6 separate regions of the Homo sapiens genome follow, and all the other regions are linked to region 2. Evidence: promoter capture Hi-C in 16 types of primary human blood cells and fetal thymus (Javierre and others, 2016). All regions are on one chromosome and are shown on one strand. The core of a region is centred on a gene start or on the middle of the fragment in contact, and the rest is flanking DNA. Distances in the headings are between cores, read along the strand shown. Region 1 overlaps SPATA22 (spermatogenesis associated 22). Region 2 holds the start of OR1A2 (olfactory receptor family 1 subfamily A member 2). Region 3 overlaps OR3A2 (olfactory receptor family 3 subfamily A member 2). Region 4 overlaps OR3A3 (olfactory receptor family 3 subfamily A member 3). Region 5 overlaps OR3A2 (olfactory receptor family 3 subfamily A member 2). Region 6 holds the start of OR1E1 (olfactory receptor family 1 subfamily E member 1).

Region 1 (4,426 bases), core at 1,180-3,679, 250 kb before region 2:
GAAACTACCTGTATTTTGAAAAAAGGTCCCATCATATGTTCTTCACAACCCTCACCCTCACAAAGGAAAGCGTCCCCTTGCCTTTGAAAATTAGTATTTTAACACACTGTATTCTTAGTTGATCTTCAAAAATGCTAAGAACATTTCCATCTCAGGGCTTTTATACTTGCTGTTCCCACTGTCCTCATTCAACAACCCACTTAAAATAATAACCCCCATCTCTCTCTCTTTCCATTTACCTTGTGTGTTTTTTTCCTAAAAAAAAAGTACATTTCCTGACATTCTGTTATATGTTTACTTATTTTTTAAATCCTCCACTAGACAATAAAATCTTCGAGGACAGATATCTTGACTGTTTTGTCCATGAATTTTTCCTAAATAGCTATGTTTGGCATGTAGTAGGTGCTCAGTAAACACTTTTGAAACGAATGAATGAATGAATGTGTCTGGCTCCTTCCCTAGAGTCCCCTAGAGTGTGAGTGCACTAGGGAAAGGAATGGCCTTACCTATATTTGTCACAGGATCTGGCATATGATGCTTTAAAATAGTCAATGAATGAATGAGTGAATGAATACCTATATAAATAATTCTCCTCTTGATTGTCTCTAAGTGCACCCTGGTTTCTCCATCTGTAATATAGTATTGATGGCCTTATTTTAGGGAAGTAACTATACTAAAATTTTCAGTAGTTCTTTTTACACACTTGTCCATTGTAAGGACTTAGAATTTTTACGTAGAAGGTAAACGAGTATGATGAAAAAAACAAATATTTTTCTAATACTATGTTTCTTATTTTTTCAAAAGGAAACCTCATTGTATCAGTTACAGTTTAAGGAAAAAGCTAGTTCTTTAAGAATTATTTCTGCAGTTATTGAAAGCATGAAGTATTGGCGTGAACATGCACAGAAAACTGTACTTCTTTTTGAAGTATTAGGTAGGTAAAATACTTTAAAAATACTTCAGTAATACTCTCTGGAGGACAGGTTTTAATGTCTGATTAGTCCTTTTTCTTCCAAATAAAACAGTCTGCTTTTTGCTACTCCCTAAAGTGTATTCAAAGAACTGGTTTTAATAATAGTCCCTGTGGTAGATAGAATAATGCTCCCTAAAAATGTCTACATTCTAATTACCAGAATAATGCACCCTAAAATGCCTACATTCTAATTACCAAAACCTGTGAATGCTACCTTATATGGCAAAAGAGACTTTGCAGATGTAATTAAGTTAGGGATCTTGAAATGGGAAGATTATCTTGTATTATTTGGGTGGGTTCAATGTAATCACAAGGGTCCCTTATACAAGGAAAGCATTGAAAGATGCTACCTTGCTGGCTTTGAAGATGGAGGAAGGGGCCATGAGCCAAAGAATGCAGGCATCTTTGAGAAGTTGGAAAAATTAAGGAAATAGATTTTACTCTAGAGCCTCCAAAAGGAACATGGCTTTGATGACTCATTATAGACTTCTGACCTCCGTAACTATTAAGATAATGCTTTTGTGTTGTTTTAAGCCAACCACTAAGTTTGTGGTAATTTGTAAGCAGCAATGGGAAACTGATACAGCCTCCTCCTTTTCCTTTTGTCCTGTTATATATATATATGTAAATATAAATGTGTGTATATATAGATGTAGATTTCTATCAGTGCAGTCATTTCACATGTTTAACTTTCACCTAAAAATGATTCCAGTTTCTCTCTTGTTACCATTAAGGAAAAAGCTTTATTATATAAAGTGACATTGGATTCAATAGAGACTCAGACTTTGAGTAAAGCACGCTGTATTCATTTTCAATTGCTGCGTAACAAAGTAATGGAAACTTAGCAGCTAAAAACCACACCCACTTCTTAACTCAAGTTTTGTAGATCAGAAGTCCATGTGGGCTTGACTGCGTTCTATACTCAGGGTATCACAGTGCTAAAATCAAGGTGTTGGCTGGGCTGGTTTTGTTCAGTTTTCGTTTTTGGCTTTTTGGAGGTTTCCATGCCTCTGGCCTCTGGAACTCCCATATACTTCAGGGATTCTTTATCAAGTCCTACTCATGTTGCTTGAAGCATATCTCTTAGCTGGTTGGCATGACTGTTACTACTCTGTTGAAGCTTGACTTAGCTCTTATTTTGTTCAGTTCTTACCAGTAGCCACGTAACTGCAATAGCAGATGGTATTCTATTTCATGTCAGTTTTCTGTCAGAGCTAGAATACTGTCAGAGGTAGAACATCTTATTTCAAAGATCTTAACCCCTGTTGGACTTCCCACTAAATTGCTTTTTCCTGTGTGAAAGATGCCTTTGGCTCTCACCTCATTTACAGAATATAAATATTAAAATAACCTGAGCCTATTAAAAGGACATGCTGATTCCATTCATTTCCCCAGGTTCTCTTTGGTGAGTTGTTCAGGTTCACTCCAGAATAATCCTTTTAAGAATATCACAATACTCATTATAAACACCAATAGACATTCTTATCAAGAAATGAAGGGGGTCCATGCTTTTATATGTGATGGTTAGCTTTCATAGTGCTATAATAATCCTGAGTTCCTAGGCTAGACTCTAAACTTATCAAAGGTAGATACTTCATTTTACTACACTTTAGTGTCTAGCACACTGCACTGTATATAGGAAGTATCTTCCAGTTGCAAGCACCCCCCAGAAAAAAACAACTTTAGTGGATTTTAAATACTCATTTATATTGCTATGTATAATATTGTGTTGCATAGAGAATTATTCACGCAACTGAAAAGTGGCTAGGTTTCTGACTTCAGGCAAAGCTTGATCTAGCTGCTCAAGAGATGGCACAGTGATTTCTCTCCATCCTTCTGGCCAGTCATAACGTTGGCTTCATCTTAAGGCTCCACACTATAGTCTCTCCAGAAGCTTCTGACTCTCTCCTTATGGTAGCAAGTTGATTATTAAATTTTTGTAGACTATACATTCTTATACCACACCGTCATATTCTTAGATTTTTCTTCTGATTGCTCTTTCCTACAAACTAACAAATGAGTCTTTGCATATAACCATTTCTGACTTGGTAACATGCCTATTGCAGAAACCCTGAACTACGTAGTTGAGTAATAAAATATGCTGATTGGATTAAGTCAGTCACAGTTCACTCGTGGATCTGGGGATGGGGACAAATCCTATCCAAATAATATGGCTAAAAATGGAATTTTCCTGAAGGATAATCTGGGTCTTTTTAGCAGAAATGGAGGCCAGCCTCAAAATAACAAATGCCCACTACCAGTACTCAGTAGATGGTTATTAAATAAATGAATAATGCTGTCACTTCATAATAGTTTCTTGAGATAAACATGAATTACAATTTGCGTTTTATAGGTGAAGAAACAGATTTGAAAGTGGTTAAACAATTTACTCAAGGAGGAGGGAATAGGGAGATGTAGGTCAAAGGGTACAAACTTGCAATTATGTAGGATGAGTAAGTCTAGAGACTTAATGCACAGAGGAGGTCTATAGTTAATATTATTGTATTGTATATTAAAATTTTGGTAAGAGTAGATTGTAGGTGCTCTTACACACACAAAGGATAACTATGGAAGGTGTTGGGTATGTTAACTTGCTCACTGTAGAAATGATTTCACTATATATAGGTATATGAAAATATATTGTATGTATATGAAAATATGTTGTATACCTTAAATGTATATAATAAAAATAAATTTAATACCCAGTTTGCTCAAAGTCACAAAATATTAGTAAGTTGAAGTACCTGGGACCTGAATGCATGTCTCCTGATTCTAATTCAATGTTTCTTTTTTCATTAAATTATGATGCTTATTTGTTACACATGTGCATTTTATTATTATAATGTTGTAGACTGTTCTGGGGATTTAACCACTCTGTACTACACATTCTAAGGAAAAAGTTTCAGATGGCCATTTATTGTCAATTGTATGAGCTTGGCATATAATCTGTTCCTAAGTTGGAGAGAGTCAGAAGTTTTGTTTTCCTACCTATAAAACTGCCTGAGAAATATCTTCTCTTCTTAAAATGTCTTCTTTATTGCTATATAAATAGCACTATGAGAGGTTGATATGGATAGTTATTTAAACATCAGCTTCTCTTTGTTAAATTTTATTTGCAGTTTACCAACATTCATTTTTTCCCCCATTTCAATATTGCTTAGCTGTTCTTGATTCAGCTGTTACACCTGGCCCATATTATTCGAAGACTTTTCTTATGAGGGATGGGAAAAATACTCTGCCTTGTGTCTTTTATGAAATCGTGAGTATTTTTAAAGTACTCTTTGCGAAGCCTATGTCAACAGAATATAAACATGCAGGCTATAATTCAGTTGAAATATAAATTCTGTTAACAATTTAGTACTTTTAACACTGGTTTTAGTTCTGATATGAAAGTTGTTTATTTTTATAATATAGAGAGCCTACTACGTGCTAGGTACTGTGCTGGGTTTGAGG
Region 2 (4,465 bases), core at 1,256-3,755:
AAGACGAACTCTCATGCTCTCGTTATTGCATCATGAAGAGCTTTTATTTAATCAATCTACCTATCTATACATCCGTCTATCATACTACCATGAATACCCAATGACCCATCACCCAACCTGAAAATTATGAGTTTAGTAGCAACCGAAATCTAACCATACGCTATCCCCATTTCCATCCCCTTAGTCTCTCCCCTTGAATTTTCTCTCATCCTGATCCTATGCTCATCATTTTCTTTTGTTTTTAGTGCACTTTAATGGCATTTATGTATATTCCAGGAAAGCACATTTTTAGTTGTTTCAGTTGTTCATAACCATATAAAAAGCATTAATAATAATCTTTTGGGATTTGCATTTTTCAAACTTAATGTCGTGTTGCTGAGATTTAACCAAATTGTAGCATGGCTCTGTGGGTCATTCAGAGAAAGGGATTTCTCTACTGGCTGGAGTGACTGACCCAGTTACCAAAGACATTGTGTTGCTGCTACACAATGAGAGGCAGAAGCTCATGATTACAATTATGTCTGGGGTGCTTCTTATTCTTTCCATACCCAGTAGCAAAGGTGAATATAAACTGCACCAACCAGAAGCATTTAAACAGTCGCTACTACTGCTGAGGCCTCAGATCCCCAGAAGTGAAAATTTGGCTTAGCTGACCAGATAAGGGCCAAGTGCCAGCTCTTTGGTACCTGTGTTCAGAGACCTGGGCATCAAATGTGTGGTCATCCCTCCTTGGAGGGTCTAGGTTTCGGTAACACCACATTTACACTTTTATTTTCCTAGTTCTGCCTGAGGTATCTTCTTCATGCCGTTGGTAATCTGTGGGTGGCATCAGCATCTGCCTTTTCACTATTTAGTCTCTTTCAGGATACACCTATGTAGCCAATTCTCTGTATCAAATCTTCTTGGTATAAATATACCAAGTGTGATTTCTGTTTCCTGCATGGATCTTAACTGACCTTAACAGACATACCAGCTCTATAATACATGAATGAATACTATGCAGTTTGATTATGTTTATTCATTATCAGATTGTATTTCAGAAACTAATATTTTTATACATTTTCCTGCTTTCCACCAATATTTTATATGATCAAAATACTAAAAAAGTAAGTGATATGTTAACACAGCTTTTGCCACCAGAGTACAAGTATAGTAGGGGTGGCTAGACATAAAAGTCCAGTAAAGATTACATTAGAATAGTAATTTGCAGCCTTCAAAGCATGAGCCATTTTGATATACACAAGCTGTGTCAGAGAGTCCGGCAGATATTATTTTCCTAACATGTAGATATGCAAGCTGAGACTCAGACTTTTTCAACTTTACTCTGCTAGTAAATTTCTGCTAACTGGGACATGAACCTGATATTCCCAGCCTGCCACTCTCTCAAAAAAGAGCAGGAATTTGTCCAAAGTGATAATTTCAATAAAATATCACATCCGTTACAAGATTTCTGGTAGAGGAATTTCTGGCTCAAAAGAACAAAAGGAGCTTCTTGAAGGGCAATGACATTGGAGCTGGATTTCCAAGTGTATCCCACTTGGTCATTACAGTATCCAGCGTGTAATCTCACAGCGGCTATGAGGAGATTCTCTTGCTGAAGAGTTTCTGTAGGGCTGCCTTCATATCCCAATTTCTCAGACTATAGATGAAAGGATTTAATGCTGGGGTCACTGCCACATACATCACAGTTATCACTGCATCTTTGGGGCTGTAACTGGTCAGAGGGCGGAAATACATGCCCATCGTTGTACCATAATATAAAAAAACAACTGTGAGGTGGGAGCCACAGGTGCAGAAGGCTTTGAATAGACTCTTGGTAGATGGAACTTGGAAGACTGTGGAAAAGACCTGAACATAGGAGACAATGATGCATAGTAATGGCAAAGAGAAAACGCCGACCCCTAGGTACATCATCTTCACATTAAAGTGGACGTCAGAACAGGACAACTTCAGCAAAGGCATAATGTCACAGTAGAAATTGGCTACTTCCTGGTTGCCACAGAAGGACAAACTAGCTGTGAGCAGAGTGTGGGGGAGAGCACTGGTGTTTCCAATCACCCAAGACCCAGCAATAAGCAGGATACAAGACCGTGGACTCATAATTGTTGTGTAATGAAGTGGGCAGCTGATGGCCACAGCTCGATCGTATGCCATTGCAGCCAAGGTATAGCTGTCTGCCTTGGCCAAGGCTATCATGAAATACATCTGCATTAGGCATCCCCCAAAGGAGATGAACTTGCTCCCCAAGAGATGGTTGGCCAGCACCTTAGGGATGGTTACGGATGAGAAGATGATGTCAACCAAGGAGAGGTTGGCAAGGAGAAAATACATGGGGTTGTGAAGGCGAATGTCAGCACAGATGGCCAAGATGATGAGCAGATTTCCAGTCAGTGTGATGGGGTAAATGCACAAAAAAATCACAAAGAAGACATTATTCTGTTCTTGCTGACTAGTAACTCCCAGGAGAATAAAATCCAGGTTAAAGGATTGATTTTCTTTCTTCATGGCTTCTTCAGCATGAAAGGGGAGAGGAACCCAGAATTATTAGCGCAGTTAGTGTGTGTTATAGTCTGCCTTATCTACCACTTAAACGTTTTTAATTATTTTACAAATTCACCTGCTGTCAAACTTATCCACCACTTTTCATTAGCCATGGCTATACCTGGTTTTTACAATCATAAATATAGCCAGCACTTTTGGGTAAAATCTCTGTTGGTCAATGGGACGAACTCTCATTGACCTCCTGGACACTCATGTCAAAGAAGTTAGCGATCTGTGAAGTAAAGATGGTTGTCCTTCCAAATGTAGCACCACCACCTTAATATCTATAATTTAATCACATAACAAAAACCTAATTTCATGTTTCATGTCTTAGATTTTTTTTTACTTTGTAGAGAAACAATAAATATGTGAAAATACAGTTATTCATCCACTTATTTGTTACACAAGACATAGCATCTGTTCTCAAGGACCTTATAATTGAATAGGAAAGCCAGACTCACACAATAATTTTATTACACATGGTAAGAAAAGGATAGCCTCTTGGAGTCCTTGTGAAAAAAACAAACAAAAAATCCTCCAGTGCAAAGGATGTATCATAGTAGGAATGCAGTGAACAATTTAAAGTTGTTCCTCCAACCAGTCTCGGGGTGAGCCCAGAGCCCAGGAAGTCAGAGGTGTCTACACTGCCATCAGATTCTAAAACAGAAAGACAACTGGCATTAGGTCCTAGAAAAACAAGCTCAGTGAACTTACTCCACAGGTGTTCGATTTTCAAAGATATTCCCTATCTTTTTGACAGCTTTTCTCTCTTTTCAAAGCCCATAACTATACATAATCACAGTGCTTTTTCCACTGGCCTTTGTCTTGGTTCATTTTGTGTTGCTATAACAGAATACTTGAGACTGGGGAATTTATAAGAAAAGAGGTTGAATTGTCTCATGGATCTGTAGGCTGGGACATTCAAGAGCGTGGCCCTGGCTTCTGGCAAGGGCTTTCTTGCTGCATCATAACCTGTCAGAGAAGGTCAACAGGGAAGTGGATACAGGGGAAGAGAGAAAACCCGAGAAGTATACTGGTTTTATCACAACCCACTCCTGTAGGAACATTCCCTTAAGATTAATCCAGTCTTGAGAGAATGAGAACACACTTACTACCATGAGAACAGCACCAGACCACTCATGAGGGATCCACCCCCTTGACTCAAACGCTTCCCACTAGGCTTTACCTCCCAACACCTCCCACACTGGGGATCACATTTCAACATGAGTTTTGGTGAGGGCAAACTCAATCCATAGCAGTCTTCTCTTCCTTGTCTTCCTTATTTCTTTTTGTAGTAATCCAAGTCCACAGTGGATTCAACTATTCTTTAGTAAACTGTCATGTCTGTATCTGTGGTCTCGATTTCTTTTTCCCATATTTCCATATTCAGTCATCCTGCTAACATGTCTGACCAAACCCCACACTCTGCACTTAAAACCTAAGTAGTTTGCAAGATGTTTCTTTTCTTTTTTTTTTTTTTTTTTTGAGACAGAGTCTCACTCTGTTGCCCAGGCTGGAGTGCAGTGGCGAGATCTCAGCTCACTGCAAGCTCCACCTCCTGGGTTCACGCCATTCTCCTGCCTCAGCCTCCCGAGTAGCTGGGACTACAGGCACGCGCCACCATGCCTGGCTAATTTTTTGTGTTTTTAGTAGAGACGGGGTTTCACGTGTTAGCCAGGATGGTCTCGATCTCCTGACCTTGTGACCTGCCCACCTCGGCCTCCCAAAGTGCTGGGATTACAGGTGCAAGATGTTTTTGAAGAGGAAAATCATAACTTGTTTATGTTTATGTCTTCCAAATTGATTTTTGTAAAATATCATTCATTTTGTGCACCAATTAATTTGCACTCAATTATTGAGTTGAACCCAGGTTTATTTCATGGTTCCCCACATGTGGGATTCTCACAGAAACACTCATCCAGTT
Region 3 (4,025 bases), core at 566-3,065, 180 kb before region 2:
AACATAAATCATATATGCCACATACACATGCAACACCCAACAAAGATGCCCTGCCCCCAAACAAATGCCAGAGACATAAAACCTCAATAGATGCTCCCAGACACACTGAGGCACACACGTGAATCTTACACGCAAACATCCACATACCGGTTCCCTCCTTCCTCTCGCTCTCTCTTGCCTCAAGTCCGCCTGCCTCAACAGAGTGGAGAGTGGGCAGTGGTAAACAGGGAAACCATCAGTGGCCCCCACGCTCTCAGGCCTGGGGGTTTCTATCCAATTCCTTAAATCCAGTCTCTCCTTGGCCAGCCCAGATTCTTCTCTTGATGGTGTGCCCAGTAGCTTTCTCTTTAACCACAGTCTTAGTCCTGGATGAGCCCTTTGTATTCCAAGGATCTCTTCTCCTCTACTTCCTTCTGCCAACTTCTTACTCATTTGTCTTCAATAATGTATTCAAACATCTTAACTGTTGTATCTACTCCATGCCAGGCAGGTACTTGAGCACTGGTGGGGGAGGCATTCGGAGATGAGTAAGACAAAGACAAAGAACTCACCATTCTATCCTGGTATCAGGCAGCTGGCAATGATTCCTAGATATCATTCCACCCAACACCCATGTCATAGACAGGGAAAGCAGCACCCGGAGAACTGTGTCTGCAGTCGCTCAGTAATCAGGGGATCAGTCAGAGTCCAGATCCTGGGCTCCGAACCCACCTATGGTTCATCCACTTCCCTGTGCTGCGTGCCACACGTTGGCAGGTCGTTCTCGTGTATTGCTCTCCCTCAGACGCTTGATTTACTCCCCTTCCCTTTCTGCCATGATTCTTCTGCTTCCTCCCAGCAAGTCTGCAAGCATTAACGAGCTCTGCCCTCCACAGCTCACCCACAGAGGCTAATCTGCTTCAGGCAAAGGGGGAGTTACAGCAGGTGTGCCCTGGAGAGGAAGATTGGCCTCAGCAGCCAAAGGCAGGAGGAGTGGCCTGCAGGCTGGGAGGAGAGGGGCCACCCACTAATTGATTAGCCTGGAAATTCTGTGGAGAGTTATGGTGGCCTCTGAAACCACTGGCCCCTTGAGGACTCCTCAGTCCTCAGCTAGTGCAGCCTCCCCTCCTCTCTTGTGCTAGAGAACTGAGTAGGAGAGGGGGCATCGAGGTGTGTGGGAAGCCAGAACTGAGGTAGATGCCTCTCAGTGTGGTGACTGGCTGTGCTGGTCTGCTGTGCTCAGAGGATGATGCTGTCACTCCCCTGCCCCTTCTATGCAGGATGGCATGTGAGGGACGGGGTGTGTTAGTGACCCTGGCCTCTTCTCCCTGGTTTTTCCCACCCTGAGCTACAACCATCACCCCTAAAGCTGCGACCTCACCATGTGATTCCTCTGCTCGGGGAAGAGCTCTTCCTCCTAATTCCACTGTGAGCAGTGAAGTGGAGCTGCGGGTGCCCTTCCCTGAGCTCCAGGCCTGCCTCAACCTCTGAGGTCCCACCTCACCCAGAACCTGGGGGAGGAGAGGAAGGGCTGGAATTGCCAGCAGATTTGCTCCAGGACAGTAGGTTCAGGGATCGTGGCAGCCGAGCCTCACACCCCATGTGGAGCTGTTCTTTGTGGACTTCAGGGTTGGCGCTCTCTGTTACTCCTTTGCTCAGGTTGGAGTTGTGGGGATCTCAGCCTTGTCCAGCTGGTGTCAGAGCAAAATGACTTCTGTTCCTTGTTCTGAAGCCTTTTGACTGTCGTGTCCTCATTGGCCTCGGCAGAGTAGCCCTCCTGGATCTGGAGGGGCCAACCTAACTTCCCAGGCTGGACCAGTTTCTCCTGAGGACAGTCTTGTTCTCTCATCTTTCCTTTCTCTACCTGGGCCATATGCCTTTTAGTTCTTGTGGAACTGATAGTCACGTCCCATGGAATGAACTTCTCTAGCTTGACTATTCATTCACTTGATAATATTTACTCAGCATATGGGGTCCCAGCCTTGTTGATCTCTGAGGAGTGTCAGAGAAGTTGTGGAATGAGTGAGATATTCAAGTCCCCACTAGCTTTTGACCCTAGGTGAGGCATTTCTCCCCTGTGAGTCTCAGCTTTCTCCCTGGTAAATTGAGAGGAGTAAACTGATGATTCTTTCATGTTTGAGGGTATAAAGTTTTGAGGATGCACATTTCATAGTTAACAGGTTGCGGGGAGAAGACTTGGGCACAGCAAGTTACAGTGCTTGGCAATAAGTGCCCTAGGTACTGAAATGAAACTGCACCTGTGGCTTGAGTGTTCAGGGAGAACTTCCGGGGGGAAGTGGTATTTAAACAAGAAGAAAAGTGGAAGGATTTGGGCATGTGGGAAGTACCTGGGAACCATAGTTTATGCAGAAGTGATAGTGGTGGCCCATCTGGAGCAGCTGCTGCGGGGATGCCAGCTGCAGCAGGGGAGGTGCGGCCAGGGCTGCGTGCTCGGTGGAGCTGGCAGGGGCTGGGAAGAGGTGGGAGCCCCACCCCCTACCAAGTTGGTGAGGCAGGAGCCCCACACTCCTAGGCGCAGCTGCAGCTGCCCAGCCGTGGCTCTGGACCCAAGCATCCCTGCACTCTTAGGGGTCCAGGAAGCCCCCTGCCCCCACGGGCTTGAAAGTGCCTGCTCTGCTCTGGCCTCTCCCTACTCCTGGCACCTGCTCCAGGGCAGAGCAAAGTTGTGGCCGAGCCTGGGCATTGTTGCAACCCAGCCAGGTGTGCACACACTCAGGGGGCTGACGTGCCAGCCCCCTGCTGCCTCTGCCCCCTCCAGACTTTGGACACCAAAGAGTGTGGGAGGGGAGTCTGGGGAGGGCGGTGTGAGGGCAGCTTGGCATGGGCCTACAGATGCCTCTCAGTGTGGACAGCCTGGGTACCACAGACAGCATGTAAAAGGCAGACAGGTTCCTAGGTGGGAAGGGGCAGGTCCTGGTGAAACCCCACCTTCAAGCCAGGGATGGCCTGAAGCCTGGGGGCCAGGCTGCCGGTTCCAGGTGAAGTCAGCAGCCTGGTGTGCGAACCTCATTGATGACCATTCAGCCAATCAGATGGTGCTTTCATTTCTCCTTGTTATGTTTTCATTTCTCCTTGTTATGTTTTCATTTCTCCTTGTTATATACCTAGGAACAGAACTGCTGGGTCAAAAGGTGGTTATATGTCTCACTTTCTTAGAAACTGATAAATAGTTTTCCAAAATGGTCAGACTAGTTTACATCCCCTTTGGAATATTTGAGAGTTCCAATTTCTCGACATTCTTGTCAACACCTGGTATTATCAATTTTTAATTTTAGCCTTTCTACTGGCCCTGTCATACTGGATTATATCATCTTTTTCTTTATCTGTATGGTCTCAGCTATCCTCAGAGTCTTCTTTTCCCCAGAGAAGTGCCTGCAGCCCTCACCTTGGTGTCATCTCCCTGGTCAATGGAACAGCTTGGTAGAGGAGACTCAGCAGCCCCCGTGCTGTACGTAGTAGTCATGGCCATGCCAAACCCATTCATCTAAAGCCCGAGGAACAAACGCCTGAAGGAGTCTTCGGGGATAAATCTCAGGGCCAAAATGGTCTCTTCCACTTACAGTCTCAGTGAGGTAGGCAAAGAATGTGGGCCCATTAAGGAAGAGAGAGAATAAAGCTAATAAAATAAGCAACAATAATAATGATAGCAGCTACCCTTTATTGAACACCTACCAGACATTGCCTTTATTGCTTATATATTGTCATTTAATATTCCTAACAGCTTCATGAAGTAGGGCATTATTATTTTCATTTTATAAATGACCAAACTGAGGCTGGGAAATGCTAGGAAAATGGCGGTTAGGAGACGGGACTAACATGCAGCTCCCCCTTGGTTGGACAGAACACCGTGTGGAGACTCACATTGTGAACTTTCTCTACAAGAATCACTACAGGAAGATACAAGCAAAACCAAAAGAATTCACATACCCTTTGAAAGAAGCAGCTTGCCGCTGCAAACTCTGCAAGGCAGCTGAAAAACTGAGTTTTCAATGTGTGAGAGGGAGAAAAGTCTGCCTCCAAACCCA
Region 4 (4,215 bases), core at 120-2,619, 220 kb before region 2:
CACTGTAGAAATCTAATAAAGTTAAGAGGAGAAGAAAGAACATGTAGAGATGGTGTAGGTATGCTGACTTCCTTAGTTGTCTTACAATTGTAAGTCAAAAGATATGTTCATGTTAATCAGCAAAAATGTTGAAATGAAAAGGCTTAACCCAATCATGAATTTAGAATAAGAAAACAAAAGAAATTTAAGAAAATCTAAAGGAATTCCATAGTAAAAAATTAGAAAATAGACAAACAAAAGAATGAATACAAATTGAGAACAGGTTGTTTGTGGTAAAATGAAATTGACAAACCTTAACTAAGTGATCTAATCGTGAGTAAAAGCAAAAAAGTATAAGCATGCAAAATAATAATTGACAGGGAGAAAATAAACATAGCCCAATAGAAAATTGAAAAATTCTAGTAGAGAATAGAATGGTGGTGATTGGAGGCTGGGAAGGGTGAGGGGAAGGAGTGATAAAGATAAATTGGTTAATGGGTACAAAAATACAGTTAAATAAAAGGAACAAGTTCTAGAATTTGATAGAGTATGGAGACTATAGTTAACAATAATTTATTGTATATTTCAAAATAGCCAGAAGAATTGGAATGTCCCCAACACAAAGACAAATGTTTGAGGTGATGGATATCCAAATTACCCTGATTTGATCCTTACACATTGTTTTATATATATATACACACATCACAGTGTACTCCCTAAATATATACAACTATTATATTTCAATAAAAATTATAAAATTCTATTTTTCTGAACTCCAAGTTATAAAAGTTTTCTATGAAGTTATGATTTATTAAAATAATTCTAGAACAGTTAGAAAATCTAAACAGACTACTATAGAAAAAGTAGAGAAAGAGCTAGCTTCCAATTGCCACTAATGAAAAGCAACATCTCCGTAAAATGCCACAGGGAAGTTTGTAATGACGATCAAACTATTCAAGAATATAAAAGAAGAAAGCTTCCATTTTTTTTTTGCGAAGTGTGCATAACTAGCTCAAAAGAAAAGAAAAAAATTTATGTTAAAGTAAAGAAAATATGAAATCATAAAAGATTAACAAATTTATTTCAGTAATTTTACCAAAATAATTAACCATAAGTATTTGGGATTTGGTCAGGAATGCCAGGTTAGTTCAAAATGAGAAAATGTATTAATATGTTTTATGATATTAACAGATGTAAAGGGAGATTATGTGATCCTTTCCATAGATGCTAAAAAGGCATTTGATTATATTAAATGTTCATTTTGATTTCTGAAATCTTATAATAAAATAGGAATAGTTAGGTACTTACCTAACATGTTAAAATAAAACTAAGTAGGCCAGGTGCAGTGGCTCACATCTGTAATCCCAGCACGTTGGGAGGCTGAGGCAGGTGGATCACTTGAGCTCAAGAGTTTGACAACAGCCTGGCCAGCATGGTGAAACCCCATCTCTATCAAAAATACAAAAATTAGCCAGGCGTGATGGTGCTCGCCTGTAATCCCAGCTACTTGGTATGCGGCTGAAACATGAGAATTGCTTAAACCTAGGAGGTGGAGGTTGTAGTGAGCCAAGATCGTGCCCCTTCACTCCAGCCTGGGTCTCAAATAATAATAATAATAATAATAATAATAATAATAATAATAATAATTTAAAAATAAGTAAATAAAAAATAAAATAAAACGAACTAAACTCCAAAGACAGCATCATGTTTAATAGAAAAACATTAAAAGCATTCTCAGTCAAGTCACTAATGAGACAAGTAAATTCATTATCAATTATTATTTAACATTGTTCTGAAAGCTTTAGCCAATGCAAGAAATTAAAAGACCATATATTAGAAAGCAATAAAACAGTTGTTGGTTTTTCTTTTCTTTTTTTTTTTTTTGAGTTGGAGTTTCGCTTTTGTCACCCAGGCTGGAGTGCAGTGGCATGATCTTGGCTCACTGCAACCTCCACCTCCCAGGTTCAAGCAATTCTCCTGCCTCATCCTCCCGAGTAGCTGGGACTACAGGCACCCGCCACCACGTCTGGCTAATTTTTGTATTTTTAGTAGAGATAGGGTTTCACCATGTTGACCAGGCTGGTCTCGAACTCCTGACCTCATGTGATCCGCCCGCCTCGGCCTCCCAAAGTGCTGGGATTACACGTGTGAGCCACCGAGCCCAGCTGGAAAACTCTTAAAAATATGAAAGTATAGGAAAATTTCAAGATAAAAAGTAAATATAAAAATAATATACGATAATATGTTGTTTTCTTATATATACCATAATAAACTAGAAAAAATAATTGTAAAAAATTCACATTAACAGAAATGACTTTAAAATCAAGCAAATTCTTGTGGTAAGATATTCAGTAAGTAAAAGGAAAGACAAAACTGTATACTTAAAATATGATCTCACTGTTACCACATACACATATAATAAACAGAAGGAAACTCTGAGCTATTGCAGTGGTTTTCAAAGAGTGGTAGTAATATAATGGGTTTTAGTGTTTTTCATTGGAGATTTTAAATGTTAACATATTACCTATATTATTTTTTTAATGATTATTAATATACTTTTTATGAATGATCGAATTATTCCCACCCTCTCAGTGGCTACGACTTGTAAATTTCAAAGTCCCTTGCCTTGCACGCTGCGGTAGTTGCTATCCACAGAAGAGCCTTGGGTGGGTTCTGGGAGTAGACAGCAGCTCTCCCAGGCTATTTTACTTCCTGTCAACCAAATTCCATTTCTGGTGATGAGCTATCTCCTGGCTTGCCAGTAAATGCCTTTTCTCTGACATCCTGAGGTGATTTGGGTCTTTTCTCCAGTTACCAAGAATGTGTCCAGTGGTCTCTGATCGCATTGCTGCTCCAATTGTCAAAGCACTATCAGATGGGTTTTGTGACTCTTAAAATCCTGAGATCGTTTCGGAGAATTCACACTACCTTCCTGCATCGTGTTTTTCTTTCTTTGTAAAGATGTTAGGAAATCCACCGGGCATTCATTCCTCGCTGATGCTCTATGAAAATGTACTGCAGTGAGTCTCAACCTCAGCTGCACAGTAGAAATATGTGGAGCTTCAAAAAAATCCTGGCCGGCCATGGTGGCTCACGCCTGTCATCCCAGCACTGTGGGAGGCCGAGGTGGGCGGATCATGAGGTCAGGAGATCGAGACCATCCTGGTTAACATGGTGAAACCCCGTCTCTACTGAAAATACAAAAAATTAGTCCGGTGCGGTGGCGGGCACCTGTAGTCCCAGCTACTCGGGTGGCTGAGGCAGGAGAATCGCTTGAACCCGGGAGGTGGAGGTTGCAGTGAGCTGAAATTGCGCCACTGCACTCCAGCCTGGGCGACTCCGTCTGAGACTCTGTCTCAAAAAAAAGAGTCAAGGTAGTCTCTAAAGACTGACCCGCAGTTTCATGTGGATAACGTGCATCTCACTGGAGTCTCTACAGCAAGAGGATGTCTCCAATGTGAGGCTGTCTCGATGACCAGCCTTCCAAATGAGGTCTCCACTGTGTGTGCTCAGGCCACGGGGAAGCTGCAGAGGGGATGCCACATGGATGAGAATGTGGATGCGGTAATCTCTAAGAGGTCCTTAAAGTTTTTTTTTTTTGTTTTTTGTTTTTTTGTTTTTTTTTGAGATGGAGTCTTGCTCTATCACCAGGCTGGAGTGCAGTGGCATGATTTTGATGATCTTGGCTCACTGCAACCTCCACCTCCCAGGTTCAAGTGATTCTCCTGCCTCAGCCTCCCGAGCAGCTGGGACTACAGGTGCCTGCCACCACGCCCGGCTAATTTTTGTATTTTTAGTAGAGACAGGGTTTCACCATGTTGACCAGGTTGGTCTCGAACAACTGACCTCATGATCCGCCCACCTCGGCCTCCCAAAGTGCTGGGATTACAGGCGTGAGCCACCGCATCCATCCAGGTCCTTAAAATTCTAAGATCACATGACTTGGGAGTGGGAAGAAATCATCTTCTGGTATGATTATCTTGATGAAATTGGTAATTGTAAATGCTTTGCAAATTGGCAAATCAGTGGGTAGGTAACAGCTCTGTACATATGTTCTTTTGAAGAAGATATTTTTGCGATAGTTTTCCTCCAAGTCCACTTCCCAAATATTTCAAGACTTGACGCCAGTTGCTGGCTGCTGAACTCATCTTTCCGTGAAACTTTCCCATCTCAAAAGGATCACTCTCCCTCTCACTCCTGCCTGTCTCTCTGTTTCTCTCTTTCCCTGTCTTTGCC
Region 5 (4,489 bases), core at 1-2,500, 160 kb before region 2:
GAAAACAAATAACAAAAAGGCAGGAGTAAGTCCCTACTTAATAATAACTTTGAATATAAATGAACTAAACTCTCCAACCAAAAGACAGAGTGGCTGAGTGGATGAATACATGAGACCCAGTGATCTCTTGCTTACAGTAAACACACTTCACCTATAAATATGCACACAGACTGAAAATAATAGATGGAAAAAGATTCCATGCCAATGAAAACCAAAAAAGAGCAGAAGTAGCTATACTTACATTAGACAAAATAGATGTCCAGACAAAAACTGCAAGAGAAAAAGAAGGGCATTATATAATGGTAAAGGGGTCAATTCAGCAACAGGATATAATGATTGCAAATATATATGTACGCAGCACTGTAGTACCCAGATATATAAAGCAAACATTATTAGAGCTAAAGAGAGAGAGAGAGAGAGAGAGAGAGAGAGAGAAATGCCAACATGATAATAGTGGGAGACTTCAATACCCCACTTTCAGTGCTGGACAGATCTTCCAGACAGACAATCAACAAAAAATGATAGGACTTAATCTTCACCATGGAACAAATAGACCTAATAGATATTTACAGAACATTTCATCCAAAGGCTGCAGAATACACATTCTTTTCCTCAGCACATGGATCATTCTCAATGATAGTCCATATATTAGGTCACAAAACAAATGATAAAACATTCAAAAAATTGAAATAATATCAAGCATCTTCTCTGACCACAATGGAATAAAAGTAGAAATCAATAATAAGAAGAATTTTGGAAACTATGTGAACTATATGGAACTATAATAAGAATAATTTTGGAACTATATGAACACATTAGACATTACACAGTACACTCCTGAATGACCAGTGGGCCAATAACAACATTGAGAAGGAATAAAAATTTATTGAAACAAATGATAATGCAAACACAACATACCAAAACCTATGGGATAGAGCAAAAGCAATACTAAGAGGGAAATTTATAGGTATAAATGCCTACCTCAAAACAGAAGAAAAACTTCAAATAAATAGCCTAATGATGCATCTTAAAGAACAAGAAAAGCAAGAGCAAACCTACCCCAAAATTAGTAAAAGAAGGGAGGTAATAAAGATCATCGCAGAAATAAGAGAATTTGAAATGAAGAAAATAATATAAAAGATCAGTGAAATAAAACATTGGTTTTGTGAAAAGATAAACAATATGGCCAAACCTTTAGCCAGACTAAGAAAAAAAGAGAGAAGACCAAATAAATAAAATCGGAGATGAAGAAAGACTCATTGCTACTGATACCACGGAACTTTGAAGGATCATTAGTGACTACTATTAGCAACCATATGCCAATAAATTCAAAAATCTAGACACATACAACCTACCAAGATCAAACCATAAAGAAATCCAAAATACAAATAGACCAATAATAATAATGAGATGAAAGTCATAATAAAAGGTCTCCTATAAATAAAAACCTTTACTTTTCTTTAGGTTGAGGCTACAGTGTACCATGATTATACCACTGCACTGCACACTGGGTGACAGAGCAAAACCTTTCTCAAAAAAGAGGAAAAGAAAAGCACAGGACGCAATGGCTTCACTGCTGAATTCTAGCAAATATTTAAAAACTAATACAAATCCTATTCAAACTGTTCCAAAAAATAGAGGAGGAGGAAATGTTACAAACATTCTTTGAGGCCAGTATTACTCTGATACCAAAAACAGACACAGACACATTAAAAACAACAACAACAACTACAGGCCAGTATCTCTGATGAATACTGGTGCAGAAATCTTCAACAAAATGCTAGCCAATCAAATTTAACAATACATTTAAAAAAATTACTCATCATAACTAAGTGAGATTTATCCCAGGGATGCAAAGATGGTGCAAAATGTGCAAATAAATCAATGTGATACCCTTCCCAGCATCTGATAACCATGGAGCTGGGAATGGTTAATGGGTACAAAAAAAAATGGATGAATAAGAACCACTATTTGATAGCACAGTGGGGTGACTATAGTCAATAATAACTTAATGGTATATTTTAAAATAACAATATAATTGGATTGTTTGTAACTTGAAACATAAGTGCTTGAGGTGATGGACACCCTATTTTCCATGATGTGCTTATTTCACTTTGCACGCCTGTATCAAAACAACTCATGTACCCTATAAATATATACCTATCATGTACCCACAAGAAATTTAAAATAATAAAATTTAAAAATCAATGTGATGCATCATATCAACAGAATGCCATATGAACAGTTCAATTGATGCTGAAAAATCATTTGATAAAATCCAACATCCCTTTATGATAAAAACCCTCAAAAACCTGGATATAGAAGGAGAATACCTCAACATAATGAAAGCCATGTATATGACAGATCCACAGCTATGAATAGTATCATACTGAATTAGGAAAAACTGAAAGCCTTTCCTCTAAGATCCAGAATACAGCGAGAATGTCCACTTTCACTATTGTTATTCAACATAGTACTGGAAGTCCTAGCTAGAACAGTTAGACAAGAGAAACATATAAAAGGACATCCAAATTGGAAAAGAAGAAGTCAGATTACCCCTGTTGATATGATTTTGTATTTGGGAAAACCTAAAGACTCTACCAATTAGAACTATTGGGCAAAGATTCAGGGAAAGCATTCTCTAATTCACTGTTGCTGAAACATAAATTGTTATGGCATTTTTGGAAAGCAACCTGGCAACACTTATTAAAATTAACCTAGATATACCCTTCAAAAAAAAAAAAAGAACTTATAAGCAAATTCAGTAAAGTTGCAGGATACAGCATCAACATAAAAAAAGTAGCATATCTATATGCTAACAGTGAACAATCTGAAAAGGAAATAAAAAATGTAATCCCCTATACAGTAGCCACAAATAAAAATACCTAGGAATTAACCCAAGAAAAAGATCTCTACAATGAAAAACTGTAAAACACTGATAAAAGAAATTGAACAGGACACCAGAAATGGAAAGATATTGCATGTTTATGGATTGGAAAAATCGATATTGGTAAAATGCCCATACTACCCAAAGTGACCTACAGATTCAATGCAATCCTTATCAAAATACCAATGACATTCTTCACAGAAATAGAAAAAAATCCTAAAATTTATATGAAATCACAAAAGACCCAGATTAGCCAAAGCTATCCTGAAGCAAAAAGAACAAAACTGGAAGAATTATGTTACCTTACTTCAAATTATACTACAGAGCTATAGTAACCAAAACAGCATGGTACTGGCATAGAAACAGACATATAAACCAATGGAACATAATAGAGAACTCAGAAACAAACACTCCTACAGTGAACTCATTTTTGACAAAGATGCAAGATATACACTGGGGAAAAGACAGTCTCTTTAACAAATGGTGTTGGGAAAACTGGATATCCATAGTCAGAAGAATAAAACTAGACCCCTGTCTCTCATCATAAATAAAAATCAAATCAAAATGGATTAAAGACTTAAATCGAAGACCTCAAACTATGAAACTACTAAAACAAAACATTGGGGTAACTCTTCAGGACATTGGTCTGTGCAAAAATGTTTTAAGTAATATTCCACAAGCAGAGGCAACCAAAGCAAAAATGGACAAATGAGATCACATCAAGTTAAAAAGCTTCTACACAGCAGAGGAAGCAATCAACAAAGTGAAGAGACAGCCCACAGAATGGGAGAAAATATTTGCAAACTACCCATCTGGCAAAGGATTAATAACCAGAATATATGAGGAGCTCAGCAACTCTATAGGAAAAAAATCTAATCCTGATTAAAAAATGGGCAAAAGATTAGAATAGATATTTCTCACAAGAAGACATACAATCCATCTTGAATTGATTTTTGTATAAGGTGTAAGGAAGGGATCCAGTTTCAGCTTTCTACATATGGCTAGCCAGTTTTCCCAGCACCATTTATTAAGTAGGGAATCCTTTCCCCATTGCTTGGTTTTCTCAGGTTTGTCAAAGATCAGATAGTTGTAGATATGCGGTGTTATTTCTGAGGGCTCTGTTCTGTTCCATTGATCTATATCTCTGTTTTGGTACCAGTACCATGCTGTCTTGGTTACTGTAGCCTTGCAGTATAGTTGGAAGTCAGGTAGTGTGATGCCTCCAGCTTTGTTCTTTTGGCTTAGGATTGACTTGGTGATGCGGGCTCTTTTTTGGTTCCATATGAACTTTAAAGTAGTTTTTTCCAATTCTGTGAAGAAAGTCATTGGTAGCTTGATGGGGATGGCATTGAATCTATAAATTACCTTGGGCAGTATGGCCATTTTCACGATATTGATTCTTCCTACCCATGAGCATGGAATGTTCTTCCATTTGTTTGTATCCTCTTTTATTTCCTTGAGCAGTGGTTTGTAGTTCTCCTTGAAGAGGTCCTTCACATCCCTTGTAAGTTGGATTCCTAGGTATTTTATTCTCTTTGAAGCAATTGTGAATGGGAGTTCACTCATGATTTGGCTCTCTGTTTGTCTGTTGTTGGTGTATAA
Region 6 (4,098 bases), core at 923-3,422, 200 kb before region 2:
TGAAAAGAGTAGTATATCTGAGATACCCTAATATTTTCCACGGGCACAAAATTACATTGGTGAAATCAGCAACAGAGTGTCAAAATGTAGTGTTAAATTGCTAAAGGTAATGAGTTCTTATTCCAGGAGGATTTAGTAGAAGTAGTTATTCTAACTTACTGGCCATTTGCTACCTTTTAAGTTGGAGGAATGCACGTTCCAGCCTGAGAGACAGCCAACAGCTATTTAGAAAACATCAGCAATATCTGGGCACCACGCCAAGTGCCGCAACTGTCTTGCTGCAGTTATGAAGGCAGACATGGCCTTTCAGGCACAGAGTTTACAGTCTGGTAAGGAAGTCAGCTGTCAACAGGTAGTCAAAGCATGGAGTGCTATTGGATGAGTATGAGATGCTGCGGAAGCATAGAAGCAGGTCTCACTTGGTTTACAGAGACACAGGGAAGGTTTAGCTGAGCAAGTTACATGTAATAGACCTGAAGGATAAGTGAGAATGAGCCGGATGAAGACAGGGCATAGCGGGGATAGGTGCTAGGTAGGAGGAATAGCAAGTATGAAAGGCTGGAGGCAAGAAATTATGACGTATAAGTCCAGCATTGCTGAAAAGAGGATGCAAGAGTCATTGTGGGGCCAGGTGAGGCTGTGGAGGCAGGTGTTGGTCAGGTAATGAAACATCCTTTGTGCTCTTGAAAGGAATTTTGCCTCTATCTTAAGAACAATGATAATCCACGAAATATTTAATCACAAGAGAGGGATGATCAGATTTTCATCTCAGAATGCCACAGTGTAAATGAAGATTGTTGGAAGAGAAGGTTGTTGAAACACAGGGGCAGGAAGATGAATTGAGAAGCAGTTTCAATAGTCCAGGTAATACAAGATTTCCACCTGGTTTAGGGTTGTGGTAGTTGGGATAAGGAGTGGATGAATTAGAAAGAGAATGAAGTGCAGAATCTGTAGGACTTGCTAGATTGGATATTGACTGTGAGAGAAATGAATTAATGAAATCAAACCTTAGGTTTCTGACTTGAGCCTGGATTCCATTCACCAAACATGAGAGAGTGGAGGAGGATGGAGTTAGAAGAGGAGCAGGGTGAGATCAGAATGTCATTTAGGATCTGTCAAGCCAAAGATGCCTGTGATCCATCCAAGAGATGTTAATCATTGAGACTCAGGATACTAAGTTCTGTATACTAGAGAACGCTACACCTGAACACCTGAGTTGTTTGTTTGTTTCTTTCTTTCTTTCTCTTTCTTTCTTTCTTTCTTTCTTTCTTTCTTTCTTTCTTTCTTTCTCTTTCTTTCTTTCTTTCTTCCTTTCCTTTCCTTCCTTCCTTCCTTCCTTCCTTCCTTCCTTCCTTCCTTCCTTCCTTCCTTCTTTCTTTCTTTCTTTCTTTCTTTCTTTCTTTCTTTCTTTCTTTCTTTTCTTTCTTTGACAGAGTCTTACTCTGTCACCCAGGTTGGAGTACAATGGCACAAACTTGGCTCACTGCAGCCTCTGCCTCCCAGGTTCAAGCAATTCTCCTGCCTCAGCCTCCTGAGTAGCTGAATTACAGGCACCCGCCACCACACCAGGCTAATTTTTGTATTTTTAGTAGAGACAAGGTTTCACCATGTTGGCCAGGCCGGTCTCAAACTCCTAGCCTCAGGTGATCCACCCACCTCAGCCTCCCAAAATGTTGGAATTACAGGTGTGAGCTACTGCGCCCAGCCTACACCTGAGTTTTAAATGGCAATTAAAGCCATTGGAGTAGATGTGTTTTTATTGGCCATTATGCAGAATTATAAAAAAAAAATGAAGTTTAGAAAAATCCCTGAGGAATATCAACATGTAAGATACTGACAGAGGAGGAGCCAACTGCAGTTACTGGTGAGGCAGGTAAGAGAGAAACCAACACACTTTATGTTTCAGAAGTAAATAGATGAGTATTTTAGAAAGGATGGAATATTGTTACATGTTAAAGATAAATGAAGAGAAAAAAGATAAAGTTAAGTCATTTCTGATTATAGAGATTCTAATTATAGATATTTGTGGTATAGAGATGATTATTATAATGTCAGTTAAATAATTTTCGCAGAACACTCAGCAGACCAAGTGTCACAGAAATATCTCCATTTTAAAATTCAGATTTTAAAGGATACTGTTGTTTTTCCATTAAAGATACTGGAGACAGAGCATGATGGGACAAAATCAAACCAGCATCTCAGACTTCCTGCTCCTGGGCCTGCCCATCCAACCAGAGCAGCAAAACCTGTGCTATGCCCTGTTCTTGGCCATGTATCTTACCACCCTCCTGGGGAACCTCCTCATCATTGTCCTCATTCGACTGGACTCCCATCTCCACACGCCTATGTATTTGTTTCTCAGCAACTTGTCCTTCTCTGACCTCTGCTTCTCTTCCGTGACCATTCCCAAGTTGTTACAGAACATGCAGAACCAGGACCCATCCATCCCCTATGCGGACTGCCTGACCCAAATGTACTTCTTCCTGTTATTTGGAGACCTGGAGAGCTTCCTCCTTGTGGCCATGGCCTATGACCGCTATGTGGCCATCTGCTTCCCCCTGCACTACACCGCCATCATGAGCCCCATGCTCTGTCTCGCCCTGGTGGCGCTGTCCTGGGTGCTGACCACCTTCCATGCCATGTTACACACTTTACTCATGGCCAGGTTGTGTTTTTGTGCAGACAATGTGATCCCCCACTTTTTCTGTGATATGTCTGCTCTGCTGAAGCTGGCCTTCTCTGACACTCGAGTTAATGAATGGGTGATATTTATCATGGGAGGGCTCATTCTTGTCATCCCATTCCTACTCATCCTTGGGTCCTATGCAAGAATTGTCTCCTCCATCCTCAAGGTCCCTTCTTCTAAGGGTATCTGCAAGGCCTTCTCTACTTGTGGCTCCCACCTGTCTGTGGTGTCACTGTTCTATGGAACCGTTATTGGTCTCTACTTATGCTCATCAGCTAATAGTTCTACTCTAAAGGACACTGTCATGGCTATGATGTACACTGTGGTGACCCCCATGCTGAACCCCTTCATCTACAGCCTGAGGAACAGAGACATGAAGGGAGCCCTGAGCAGAGTCATTCATCAGAAGAAAACTTTCTTCTCTCTCTGATGATAACACTTGGAGCTATTACATAGTTTATCCAGTAAAATATTGATATTAATATTGGAATATTATTCTAAATTATTTCCTCACCATCCTTTTGTTGAAATGGCATCGTACATAATTTTTCAATATGTAGTGGAGATGAAGCATAGCTGAGTAGTTGAACTAGGGAAGAGGGTCTTGGTGACCTGGCTAAGACTTCCTGTTTGTCTTCCCAAGGTGATCTTGGAAAAATGTAGTTTAAGAACAACTGTTTTAAATGGTCTTCATGCCCCACATTCTTAAATTATCACAGGATTTTGTTATGTTACTCAGAATTTTGCTTTGATTGTAGAATCATTTTTGTTTAATTAAAAAAATTTTTAAATTTTTTGTTTATTTTTATTTTCTATTTCGCACAGGGTCTCACTCTGTTGCCCAGGCTGGAGTGCAGTGGCACAATCGTGGCTCACTGTAACCTCAACCTTCTGGACTCAAGGGATTCTCCTGCCTCAGCCTCCCAAGTAGCTAGGACTACAGGCATGCACCACTACGCCCAGCTAATTTTAAGATTTTTTTGTAGAGATGAGGTCTCCCTAAGTTTCTCAGGCTGGTCTTGAATTCCTGGCCTCAAGTGATCCTCCCACCTTGGACTTTCAAAGTGCTGGGATTACAGGTGTGAGGCACCATGCCTGGCTTGTGGAATCATTTTATTTTTATTTATTTATTTATTTATTTATGAGACTGAGTCTTGCTCTGTCACCCAGGCTGGAGTGCAATGGCATGATCTTGGCTCACTGCAACCCCCGCCTCCTGGGTTCAAGCAATTCTCCTGCCTCAGCCTCCCGAGTAGCTGGGATTACAGGCAAATGCCACCACGTCGGGCTAATTTTTATATTTTTAGAGATGGGGTTTCACCATGTTGGCCAGGCAGGTCTTGAACTCCTGACCTTGTGATCCGCTCACCTAGGCCTTCCAAAGTGCATGGATAGAATCATTTCTAAATAGT

The links. The method cuts DNA at HindIII sites, captures the fragments that hold promoters and counts their contacts. A CHiCAGO score of 5 or more calls a contact.
Region 1: a fragment that was not itself captured here is called in contact with the fragment with the promoter of OR1A2 in region 2 in 6 of 17 cell types (M1 macrophages, M2 macrophages, M0 macrophages and 3 more); the score reaches 11.3 in M1 macrophages.
Region 3: a fragment that was not itself captured here is called in contact with the fragment with the promoter of OR1A2 in region 2 in 3 of 17 cell types (M1 macrophages, M0 macrophages and M2 macrophages); the score reaches 6.0 in M1 macrophages.
Region 4: a fragment that was not itself captured here is called in contact with the fragment with the promoter of OR1A2 in region 2 in 3 of 17 cell types (M1 macrophages, endothelial precursors and M2 macrophages); the score reaches 9.2 in M1 macrophages.
Region 5: a contact is called between a fragment that was not itself captured here and the fragment with the promoter of OR1A2 in region 2, in 1 of 17 cell types (M1 macrophages). The highest score is 5.6, in M1 macrophages.
Region 6: a contact is called between the fragment with the promoter of OR1E1 here and the fragment with the promoter of OR1A2 in region 2, in 6 of 17 cell types (M2 macrophages, M0 macrophages, M1 macrophages and 3 more). The highest score is 13.0, in M2 macrophages.

What each region holds. Positions count from the first base shown.
Region 1 is chr17:3,442,980-3,447,405 of GRCh38, reverse strand. It overlaps SPATA22 (spermatogenesis associated 22), which reads left to right. Exons shown (of 9, transcript NM_001170698.2): 7 at 805-934; 8 at 4,135-4,232. Among named protein-coding and RNA genes, the nearest start is that of OR1E2, 11 kb to the right of the region's middle. The HindIII fragment of the contact is 668 bases long and covers 2,096-2,763 here.
Region 2 is chr17:3,195,559-3,200,023 of GRCh38, reverse strand. OR1A2 (olfactory receptor family 1 subfamily A member 2) reads right to left here and starts at 2,505. Exons shown (of 1, transcript NM_012352.3): 1 at 1,576-2,505. The coding sequence starts at 2,505. The coding sequence ends at 1,576. The HindIII fragment of the contact is 7,515 bases long and covers 1-4,465 here.
Region 3 is chr17:3,377,021-3,381,045 of GRCh38, reverse strand. The region is part of intron 1 of OR3A2 (olfactory receptor family 3 subfamily A member 2); the gene reads left to right. It also overlaps the pseudogene OR1AC1P. Among named protein-coding and RNA genes, the nearest start is that of OR1R1, 6.9 kb to the left of the region's middle. The HindIII fragment of the contact is 4,906 bases long and covers 1-4,025 here.
Region 4 is chr17:3,413,210-3,417,424 of GRCh38, reverse strand. All of the region lies in intron 2 of OR3A3 (olfactory receptor family 3 subfamily A member 3), which reads right to left. Among named protein-coding and RNA genes, the nearest start is that of OR3A3, 3.9 kb to the right of the region's middle. The HindIII fragment of the contact is 823 bases long and covers 958-1,780 here.
Region 5 is chr17:3,351,375-3,355,863 of GRCh38, reverse strand. All of the region lies in intron 1 of OR3A2 (olfactory receptor family 3 subfamily A member 2), which reads left to right. Among named protein-coding and RNA genes, the nearest start is that of OR1R1, 32 kb to the left of the region's middle. The HindIII fragment of the contact is 4,742 bases long and covers 1-3,621 here.
Region 6 is chr17:3,396,484-3,400,581 of GRCh38, reverse strand. It overlaps OR1E1 (olfactory receptor family 1 subfamily E member 1), which reads left to right and starts at 2,172. Exons shown (of 1, transcript NM_003553.3): 1 at 2,172-3,478. The coding sequence starts at 2,172. The coding sequence ends at 3,116. The HindIII fragment of the contact is 11,538 bases long and covers 1-4,098 here.